Linked DNA regions of Homo sapiens: region 2 is linked to region 1. Evidence: promoter capture Hi-C in 16 types of primary human blood cells and fetal thymus (Javierre and others, 2016). All regions are on one chromosome and are shown on one strand. Each heading gives the region's core, a stretch centred on a gene start or on the middle of the fragment in contact. The rest is flanking DNA. Distances are from core to core; before and after follow the strand shown. Region 1 holds the start of PHOSPHO2 (phosphatase, orphan 2). Region 2 overlaps FASTKD1 (FAST kinase domains 1).

Region 1 (4,893 bases), core at 632-3,131:
ATGGCCTATCACCTCTCATTAGTCCCTACCTTCCAACATTTTTACATTGGGGATTAAGTTCCCACACATGCCTCTGATAGCTGTGATATTTAAAATTGCCACTGAACATTTGACAAACATACTTGGTGAGTTTGAAGTCAGACTAAATAACAATAAGCCTCATGAGTGAGATTTTCCAAGGAACTATCAAACATGTCGAATAATAACAGTTGTCTGGCTTTGGAGTGGGTCAAATTCTGTTTTGTCCCCTCTACCAGTTGCTAAGTCACTATTTTTCACTGTGATTACTGTGGTTATCTAGGCTGACACGGGGCTGGGAGAAAAGTATAGGACTATGGCAAGTTAAAATGCCAAAAACCTTGCTGTTGTTACAAAAATCCAGCTGTTTTTCTTTAGTAAACACTCTACAAATTGTTGCAAGCCTTTGGTTAATTTCCAGAGTTCTGAAAAAGTCGATATTGATGATTTTTGCCACTGTTCTTGTTGATTTTATGGAGGAGAGGATTTCAGGCATAGATCCTATTTCACCATTCTGGCTGATGTCATCCCACTAAATCTTTATAAATTATTTATTTTACTAATAGCTGCACACATCTCTGAACCTCTCTCCAACTTAGCCTTCCCCTAAAAATGGAGATTAAAATTTAGCAGTGAGGCTCAGGTGGAAGCTTTTGAGCTAGTTGCCACAAAACATTATTTAACAACTATTAGGTAAATCTAAACCAGGTAGTGCAGAAATGCATATGCAGGAAAGTGAATGTGTGGGACTAATTGTGCTTTTCCAAAACTGGCCATGTTGGTACTGTTTCTTTCCTTTTACATGGCAAAAGTCCGCTGCTAACCTCATAAAACCTCCACTGCATAAATATCCACTAGTGAAGAATGACTGGCTGTCACTCTGCATCTGGTGCAGGGGGCACTATTGCTACAGAAGCTCGGGCAATGACATGAAGATACTTCAAATTGCCAAAGTTCTAGTTGTCACCATGACAACATTAATTGCTAATTTACAGACGTAAGAAACTGTTGTAGCTAGAATTGATAGAGTTCTTTAGAAGTCTATTTCTATTCCAAAATCAAATTGTTATAACAGGTCACCTGAATTACAGTACTTTATGTCACACGATTTTTTTTTAACTCTCTAAAAGCATTTGACTTAGAGAGAGACCTTATATTTACTTTAGAGAGGAGGAAATGGAGATATTTCCTTCAGAGACTTTTAGTAAAGACCAATCAGCAGGTTTGCAGAAGAGCCAAGCCTCTAAAGAGGTGACTTATATTTCCAAGAGATATTCCAATTCAATCAGTGAATAACAAACTTTAAGCGTGCGGGAAATTTAACAAAACCCAGACTCTCAGAGCTGCAACTGCGCAGTTTTAGGTCAGCTGGGGCTGGGGGTGGGGGTCTCTGATTTCCTATCTTTTCTCCACCCCTATTTCTGTAAACATTCTCCCACCCACTTCCACTCCCCGTTTCCCTCCTTCACCCATTCACCTGAGGGCAAGACGGCCTAACTTCACACAGAGCCCAAAGATGCTTATTGAGGATGCTTTCGACCTGGTGGAGTCCATTTCAAAAGGCAACTGAAGCCCTCATTCGGCATCCTCGCCTCTCACTCCATGCCGGGGGTCCAGAAACAATCCCTGTCCCTGGATAGGTCAGTTTAGCTCACCTGTACTTTCCTTCGCCCGTCCACAGCGCCGTCCAAACCGTACCAGCATCTCTGACGAGGTGTCCATGATGCTCCTAGATCTGGAAAAGTGACTGTGGCGCCAAGCGCCGCGGACGCCAGCCGGTGGAGTTGTTACTCGTACCACGCGGTTGCTTGGCAACGCCGCCGGAAGTGACGCCAGCCGTAGCCGAGGAACAAGGGAGGTGCTGCAGTTGGCGGTCGGGCTAGAGAAGAGAGGCGCCTGCGCTTGCGAGCTGGGCTTGTGAGTGGGGCTGCCGAGAGGGCAGGCGTGGGGCGAGGCCAAAGGACTGAACCCGCAGGAGCGTCACGGGCGCCGGGGCGGCTGCCGACGGCGGGACTGGGTCAGTGAGAAGCCCGTGGGCCCCCGCCCTGCCTGCTACTCCCATCCCCACCTGCGCGCTCCCCATGGGGGACGACCCCCGATTGGGTCCGATGCCTACCCTCGGGGTGGAGCCGGCAGGTGTGTGAGCGCGCGAGGCCTAGGCGTGGTGTGTGCGTCCGCAGATCTCCTCGCGGGTGGAGTGTGAGGAGCAAAGCCCTCCCTTAACTATAAAAACCCGCGGATTCGCTGACATAAACGCTGTTTTTTTAATCCTTTGGTTTCTGAGGCATGGTCAGGACTAGATGGGGCCAAGTTTTTTAAAAATAGGAATGTTAAAACGTAATGATATGCTTAGAATATTTACGTTAGGACCTTTGAGATATTTTAAATTTCTTGGTAAATACATGACCACAGAAATCTGTTAGGAGTAGCTGCGCGTTTGGTTTCAAAAGATGCTTTTCTAACACATTGATGTACAGATAACTTCATTACTAACAAGTTGGCTCTGACGTGTACACATAATGCACCAAATTGGAGTCTCTCAAAATGAAAGAACAAAAAGATTTTTAATAACGAATGTTCTAACACATAGTCGTGCTATTTTTCTTTAGGTTTTCTATCAGATGTTCCACGTAATAATGCTGGTAAGTATGGAATAATTAAGAAAATATTTGAAGACAGAAATTAGTTTGTGCACATACAGCGCTGGTAGGTTTTTGGAACTATACCTTAAAAAGTGTCAAGAACTGGGGGCCAGGCGCGGTGGCTCACGCCTGTAATCCCAGCACTTTGGGAGGCCGAGGCGGGCGGATCACGAGGTCAGGAGATCGAGACCATCCTGGCTAACACGGTGAAACCCTGTCTCTAGCAAAAATACAAAAAAATTAGCCAGGCGTGGTGGCGGGCGCCTGTAGTTCCAGGTACTCTGGAGGCTGAGGCAGGAGAATGGCGTGAACCTGGGAGGCGGAGCTTGCAGTGAGCCGACCATCGTGCCACTGCACTCCAGCCTGGGCGACAGAGCGAGACTCCGTCTCAAAAAAAAAAAAAGTTTCAAGAACTGGGAAGGAACAGAGATTTTTACCCTGTTTGCAGGCTAACTTAGCCTGGCAGTTTCATGGAAGACACAAGACTATTCATTTCAGGAATGAATTACTCCCAGCAGTAGCCAGTAAATCAGCAATTTCGCCTGAGTTCCCTAAAGCCCCAGTTCCCACAGGATAATGCAAAGTGGGCAAGAAGTCACCTAGATGTAGTGTGTGTCGAATTACAGGAAAGGAGCCCTGAGCTTAGGGAACCCAGATCTTTATCATTTGGACAAATAAGCATGTTTCTCAAGGCTGTCCAGTGTACAAACATCCTTGAGACAATAGTCTAGAGGAAAGGGCAGTCAGTAAGACATGCAGAACCACCAGAGACGCAGGGAAAATTGTCTCCCAACAACAATTTTCTGGAATTTTAACAAAATTGGTTACAAAAGTATTGAATCTCATGATTTGATGTCAGTTACTTGCCAATTTGACATGGTGGTCAGATATAATTTGACTTCAGACTCGAGATTCCAGCTCCAACCTGTGGATTGTCACAACCAAGTCAATCTAGAGTTATTTGTCCTATACCCACCACTCTTTTATTTCTTTGTTGTGAATTTAATAAGGTAGCATATGCACTCTGATCTGAAACAGAGTTTAAATTATTCTGAGAAGAAAAAAATTTTATTACAAAATTGATGTAGAAAAAGTGTGAACTACGGTTGAACCAACCATAACCATCCCACTGCACATGTAAACATTTTCTAAAACAAAAACAGGATTATACTGTACACACTATTTTGTGACTTGCTTATTTAATTTGAACTGAATATCTTGGCTTTTACTGGCTGGATATTCTGTTATTTGCTATCACATGCATATCTTACTTAATTATTTCCCAATTCTTGGATGTCTGTGTAGTTTTTAATTTTCATTATTGTGTAAAGTATGCAGGATATTGTTACACTATGGAAACATTGCAGACATACCAAATAGACATAGATTGTGCTTTTGAAGAGAACAGTTAACTTTTTGGAATTTTAACAAATTGGTTTCAAAACAGATTCACATTCTTAAAACTAAATCTTTGTTCATATTCTTAATTTTTGGAGACATTTTAATTTCTAGTACAGCACTAAATGTCTATTGACAACAGAATGTGGAACTCCTCTATTATTAAACAAGTACAAAGAAAAAATGGACTCTGAAAATCTCAATCAGCTTAACACTGATTTTATCCACTGGACAAAAACTTATTTTCACATAACATTTCTTATTTTCGACACCAAGTCGATACCAAGTGGAAAGCAAAACTTTGTTCTCCTATTGCCAAAAGATGCTTTTCTGACATTAGAAAAACAACATAATTAGAAAATACAAAAAAAAAAATTTTTTTTTTTTTGACACGGAGTCTCGCTCTGTTGCCCAGGCTAGAGTGCAGTGGCGCGATCTCGGCTCACTGCAAGCTCCGCCTCCCAGGTTCATACCATTCTCCTGCCTCAGTCTCCCAAGTAGCTAGGACTACAGGTGCCCGCCACCACGCCCAGCTAATTTTTTGTATTTTTAGTAGAGATGGGGTTTCACTGTGTTAGCCAGGATGGTCTCCATTTCCTGACCTCGTGATCCCCCGCCTCGGCCTTCCAAAGTGCTGGGATTACAGGCGTGAGCCACTGCGCCCGGCCTGAAAATACAAATGTTAAAGCTTTTAAAATACTTTTATTAATTTTAGGAGTTAAGAAGTTTCCATTATTTTGCTCCAAACCAGAAGACTCTGTTCCCTGTATATAGAATAGGAGTAATATTTGAAAACAACTGGCTGATGTTTAAAACTGAAGATTGTCATGATTGT
Region 2 (4,451 bases), core at 519-3,018, 130 kb before region 1:
TGGCTCACACCTGTAATCCCAGCACTTTGGGAGGCCAAGGTGGGCAGATCACGAGGTCAGGAGTTTGAGACCAGCCTGGCCAATATGGTGAAACCCTGTCTCTACTAAAAATACAAAAATTAGCTAGGTGTGGTGGCAGGTGCCTGTAGTCCCAGCTACTTGGGAGGTTGAGGCAGGACAATCACTTGAACCCAGGAGGCGGAGCTTGCAGTGAGCTGAGATCACACCACTACGCTCCCGCCTGGGCAACAGAGCGAGACTCTGTCTCAAAAAAAAAAAAACATAAGTTTATAGATATTTTAGCAAGATCATTGTACTTCTGAGTTATTTTGAAATAAAGAAAAATTTAAAAGAAATGCTTGATTCACTATAAAATACAATCATACATGTAATTTAATTAATACAGTAATTATAAAACACAAAAGACCACCTATTTTACAAGTGATTTGTTCAAGCTGCATAATACACATAACGTATCCTTGCTTTGAAGAGAAATAAAATGTTGTGACCTATTATCAACAAATCTAACCCCAAAGATCCAGTAAATAGATAATTTGTACTGTTAGCAAAAGGAATAAGATTACTCTGCTTACCCTCAATATACTTATAGGTAGAGAGTATAAAAGAAGACAGATGGGTTTAGCTAATAAGATTAACTTAAAATCACAACTTAGTAGATTAATACAGAATTTCTAAATCTGGAGAACTGTTCTGTCCCTTAATTTAATCCAGCCCATGTAATAAAGGCCTACAGAGTTTACCAATATATAAGTATTTATTATAGTTTAAGCTTTAAGAGGCAATATGTTAAAAATATTTTAAAAATCAGAATGGTCGCTCCTCTCTGTCTACAAATAAATAGCCTGTTGTTTCTCCTTCATCTTAGTCAAGACTTTCCTGTCTGGTTTCCATTTGATTTAGAGGGAGAGTTGCTCTGTAGTTTTTAATATCCTCCTATCTCTTCCTCACCCTGATTTTTTTCTTTCCTCCCTAACATTTGCCTTATTCCACTAACAATAGACTACAATCATCCAGAGTTCCTAGATTAAAAAATTCAAAGTTTTCAGAAATAGATGAAGATTTCCCAAAATGAGTCTGCTATTATCTCAGCCCTTTTATAAATAAAGAGCTTCTGATATATAATTAGAGAATAAATTTCTCTGTACTCACAAGATTTCCCATTTTTCTGAATGATTATCAAGTAAGGCAACATGCTGAAAATAGAGCTGTGTACAATATAGGAAATATATCTGAATTAATACTGTCCACAGCAGTGGACCTGAAACTCACTTTCTTTAAAAAGCTTCTAAGTCACCTATAAGCTCTGGTCATTGCCTCTCCTTAAAAATGGAGTAACAGACAAGTAGCTACAGATGCTCCTAAACAGTGTTAAATGGCCTTCCTCTCTAATAAACTAGGGTCTCTTTTTTTCTCCTTTCCTGGCTCCTGCACTTCTAGGTTTTTATTGATAGCCAATTAATCAAGAATCTTTCCTTTCTGAAGTATTCTTCTAGAAAAGAAGATTCAAAAAGGCTAGTTCATGAATAGCTGTGACTCTATCTTATTTATATTTCAACTAATTACATGTGTGGAAAAGTATACTATTCCCCACTCTTAAAGAGGAAAAATATGAAATACTTTCTTTTCTCTCTTAAAGAATACACAGCCAGGCATGGTGGCTCATGCATATAAACCCAGCACTTTGTGAGGCCAAGGAGGAAGTATTGCTTGAGCCCAAGAGTTCAAAACCAGCCTGGGCAACATGTCAAGACCCTGTCCATTAAAAAAAAAAAAAAAAAAAAAAAAAAAAGAGAGACAGAAAAAGAGAGAAGAAAAAGAAAGAAAGAAAAGAAAAGAAAAAAGAAAAGACATGGCTGGGAGCGGTGGCTCACGCCTATAATCCCAGTACTCTGGGAGGCTGAGGCAGGTGGATCACGAGGTCAGGAGTTCAAGACCAGCCTGGCCAAGATGGTGAAACCCCATCTCTACTAAAAATACAAACAATTAGCCCTGAGTCATGGTGGGTGCCTATAATCCCAGCTACTTAGGAGGCTGAGGCAGAGAATTGCTTGAACCCAGGAGGCAGAGGTTGCAGTGAGCTGAGACCACGCCACTGCACTCCAGCCTGGGCGACAGAGTGAGACTCCATCTCAAAAAAAAAAAAAAAAACAACAACACATTACACAATCAAAAACTTTAAAACTAAACTGAGTTTAAATACATTTTTTTCAGTGAAGCTTGACAGGCATCAGTTCCCTGTTCTTTCCCTTCAAGATTTCACTCTGTTAACCCTGAAAAGAATAACCCTGATCTTCAAGATGAACCCAGGGTACTTGCCTTTCTAGCCTTCTCCATGCTTCTGTAACTAGTGCTTCAACTAGCGGGTCATGGGCCTCACCAGCAAACCTTAATAAAAAAGAAAGAATCCTCCATACATAATCATTTTAAAATCATTAAAAACATATGCAATACGAATGATAATGCAAAAGTGAAACTCAAGTTATTTTCCTCTTATACAGGCAGTCCTTATTTCTGGTCCACTCTTATTTCAATATTCTGATTTTTTGGTACAGCCTAATAAACATCTATACTTTATCCCATGCCCTCTCACCCTTTTATCTGCTTATTTCAATACCCATGCTACTGACCAATGATAATGTTCAACAATATATTTATGTTAAAAGTACATATAATATGTCTTTGTTCTGATTTAAATACTTTTGATCAGGCATGGTGGCTCACACCTGTAATCCCAGCACTTTAGCAGGCTGAGGCGGGCGGATCACTTAAGGTCAGGAGTTCGAGACCAGCCTGGGCAACATGGTGAAACCCCGTCTCTACTAAAAATACAAAAATTAGCTGGGCGTGGTGGCATGTGCCTTTAATCCCAGCTACTCAGGAGGCTACGGCAGGAAAATTGCTTGAACCCTGGAGGTAGAGGTTGCAGAGAGCCGAGACTGCACCACTGCACTCCAGCCTCGGTGACAGAGTGAGACTCCACCTCATAAATAAATAAATAAAATATTTTTATAAGAAAATGTTTGTAAAAAAATTAAAAAGCTAATAGTCACCAATCACCTTATTCACAAAACTTTAAGCATCCCCTTCAAGTACCTCAGAGAAAACAACTTTGTAACCTGAGAAAGGCCACCAAAAAACATGGAATCATCCTTTTTCAGTTTAACATCAATCCCCAATATAAGCCCCAAGCCCCTTTCCTATAAATGCCAATTCTCTTACAAAAACAACTTACACGTCTCTAACTTACGTAATGCTGATATTTACAGCCATTTAAATAACCCCTGAAGGTTGGGTCATCATGTGAGAAAACTGCTCTTTTTCATCAGTGAGACTAATAAACAGATTAGGTGTAACTTTTTTGTTTTTTCCCCCTTGTACAACTGCTGAAGCCTTCATTCAGGGAACCCAGTTCTTTTGAAGGCTGGATTTCCTTGCAAACAACATATTTCTTTTTATTTTTTTTCCTTTTTTCTTTGCTCTCTTCATTTTTTCTTCACAAATCCCAAAACTGGAATGTAATATTTCTTAACATTTATCTCTGAGTTTTTCCACTGACACCAAGGAAGCCCTTCTTTACGTAATACCTATCAACCATCCACATAATTTGTATAACATTGTTATCAAATATAAATGAATCTACAAAATCATTTTATTTCTTTTTCCTTTTAAGGGCTATTATTGAGAAACAACCTATTGTACCAATACCCCCTAGAAAACATATGTGCCGTCCATTTAATTACAATAACGAGATTGCAAACAAGTTATCACAGACAAAATTTACTAATTGCTGATTGTTATTAGGCATTACTTTTTTTTTTTTTTTTTGGAGACAGCGTCTCACTCTGTCGCCCAGAATGGAGTAGAGTAGCATGATCTGTGCTCACTGCAACCTCTACCACGTGAATTCAAGAGATTCTCCTGCCTCAGCCTCCAGAGTAGCTGGGATTCCAGGTGCCTGCCATCACGCCCAGCTAATTTTTGTATTTTTAGTAGAGGCAGGGTTTCACCATGTTGGCCAGGCTGGTCTTGAACTCCTGACCTCAGGTGATCCACCCACCTCAGCCTCCCAAAGTGCTGGGATTACAAGTGTGAGTCACCACACCCGACTGGCATTAATCTTAAATCTAACTGCTTACCTACTATATCCTCATCTGCAGCCAACCACATTTTCACAAAACTCCACAATAATCCAATTTCAAATGCCCACAGTTAACAATAGTATTACAGTTGTTAAAGGAGAATTGCTTGAACCTGGGAGGCGGAGGTTGCAGTGAGCCAAGATTGTGCCACTGTACTCCAGCCTGGTGACAGAGCAAGACTCCGCCTCAAAACAAAACAAAACAAAACAAAAAAATTAGATTATCAGGAAAACTACTGGTGAAAAAAATTATTTTTCATTTTGAAGAGATTTTTAGACCTGGCACAGTGGC

Evidence for each region. Contacts are between HindIII fragments. The CHiCAGO score rates a contact against its expected background, and 5 or more counts as called.
Region 2: a contact is called between a fragment that was not itself captured here and the fragment with the promoter of PHOSPHO2 in region 1, in 2 of 17 cell types (total B cells and total CD8 T cells). The highest score is 6.5, in total B cells.

What each region holds. Positions count from the first base shown.
Region 1 is chr2:169,692,588-169,697,480 of GRCh38, forward strand. PHOSPHO2 (phosphatase, orphan 2) reads left to right here and starts at 1,882. Exons shown (of 4, transcript NM_001008489.4): 1 at 1,882-2,035; 2 at 2,628-2,660; 3 at 4,774-4,893. It overlaps CFAP210 (cilia and flagella associated protein 210), which reads right to left and starts at 1,818. Exons shown (of 9, transcript NM_001085447.2): 1 at 1,674-1,818. The coding sequence starts at 1,740. PHOSPHO2-KLHL23 (PHOSPHO2-KLHL23 readthrough) reads left to right here and starts at 1,882. Exons shown (of 5, transcript NR_144936.2): 1 at 1,882-2,035; 2 at 2,628-2,660; 3 at 4,774-4,893. RefSeq lists an enhancer at 1,601-1,780 and a silencer at 1,911-2,190. The HindIII fragment of the contact is 4,078 bases long and covers 667-4,744 here.
Region 2 is chr2:169,566,847-169,571,297 of GRCh38, forward strand. FASTKD1 (FAST kinase domains 1) reads right to left here. Exons shown (of 15, transcript NM_024622.6): 3 at 2,338-2,406. Among named protein-coding and RNA genes, the nearest start is that of FASTKD1, 4.8 kb to the right of the region's middle. The HindIII fragment of the contact is 934 bases long and covers 1,302-2,235 here.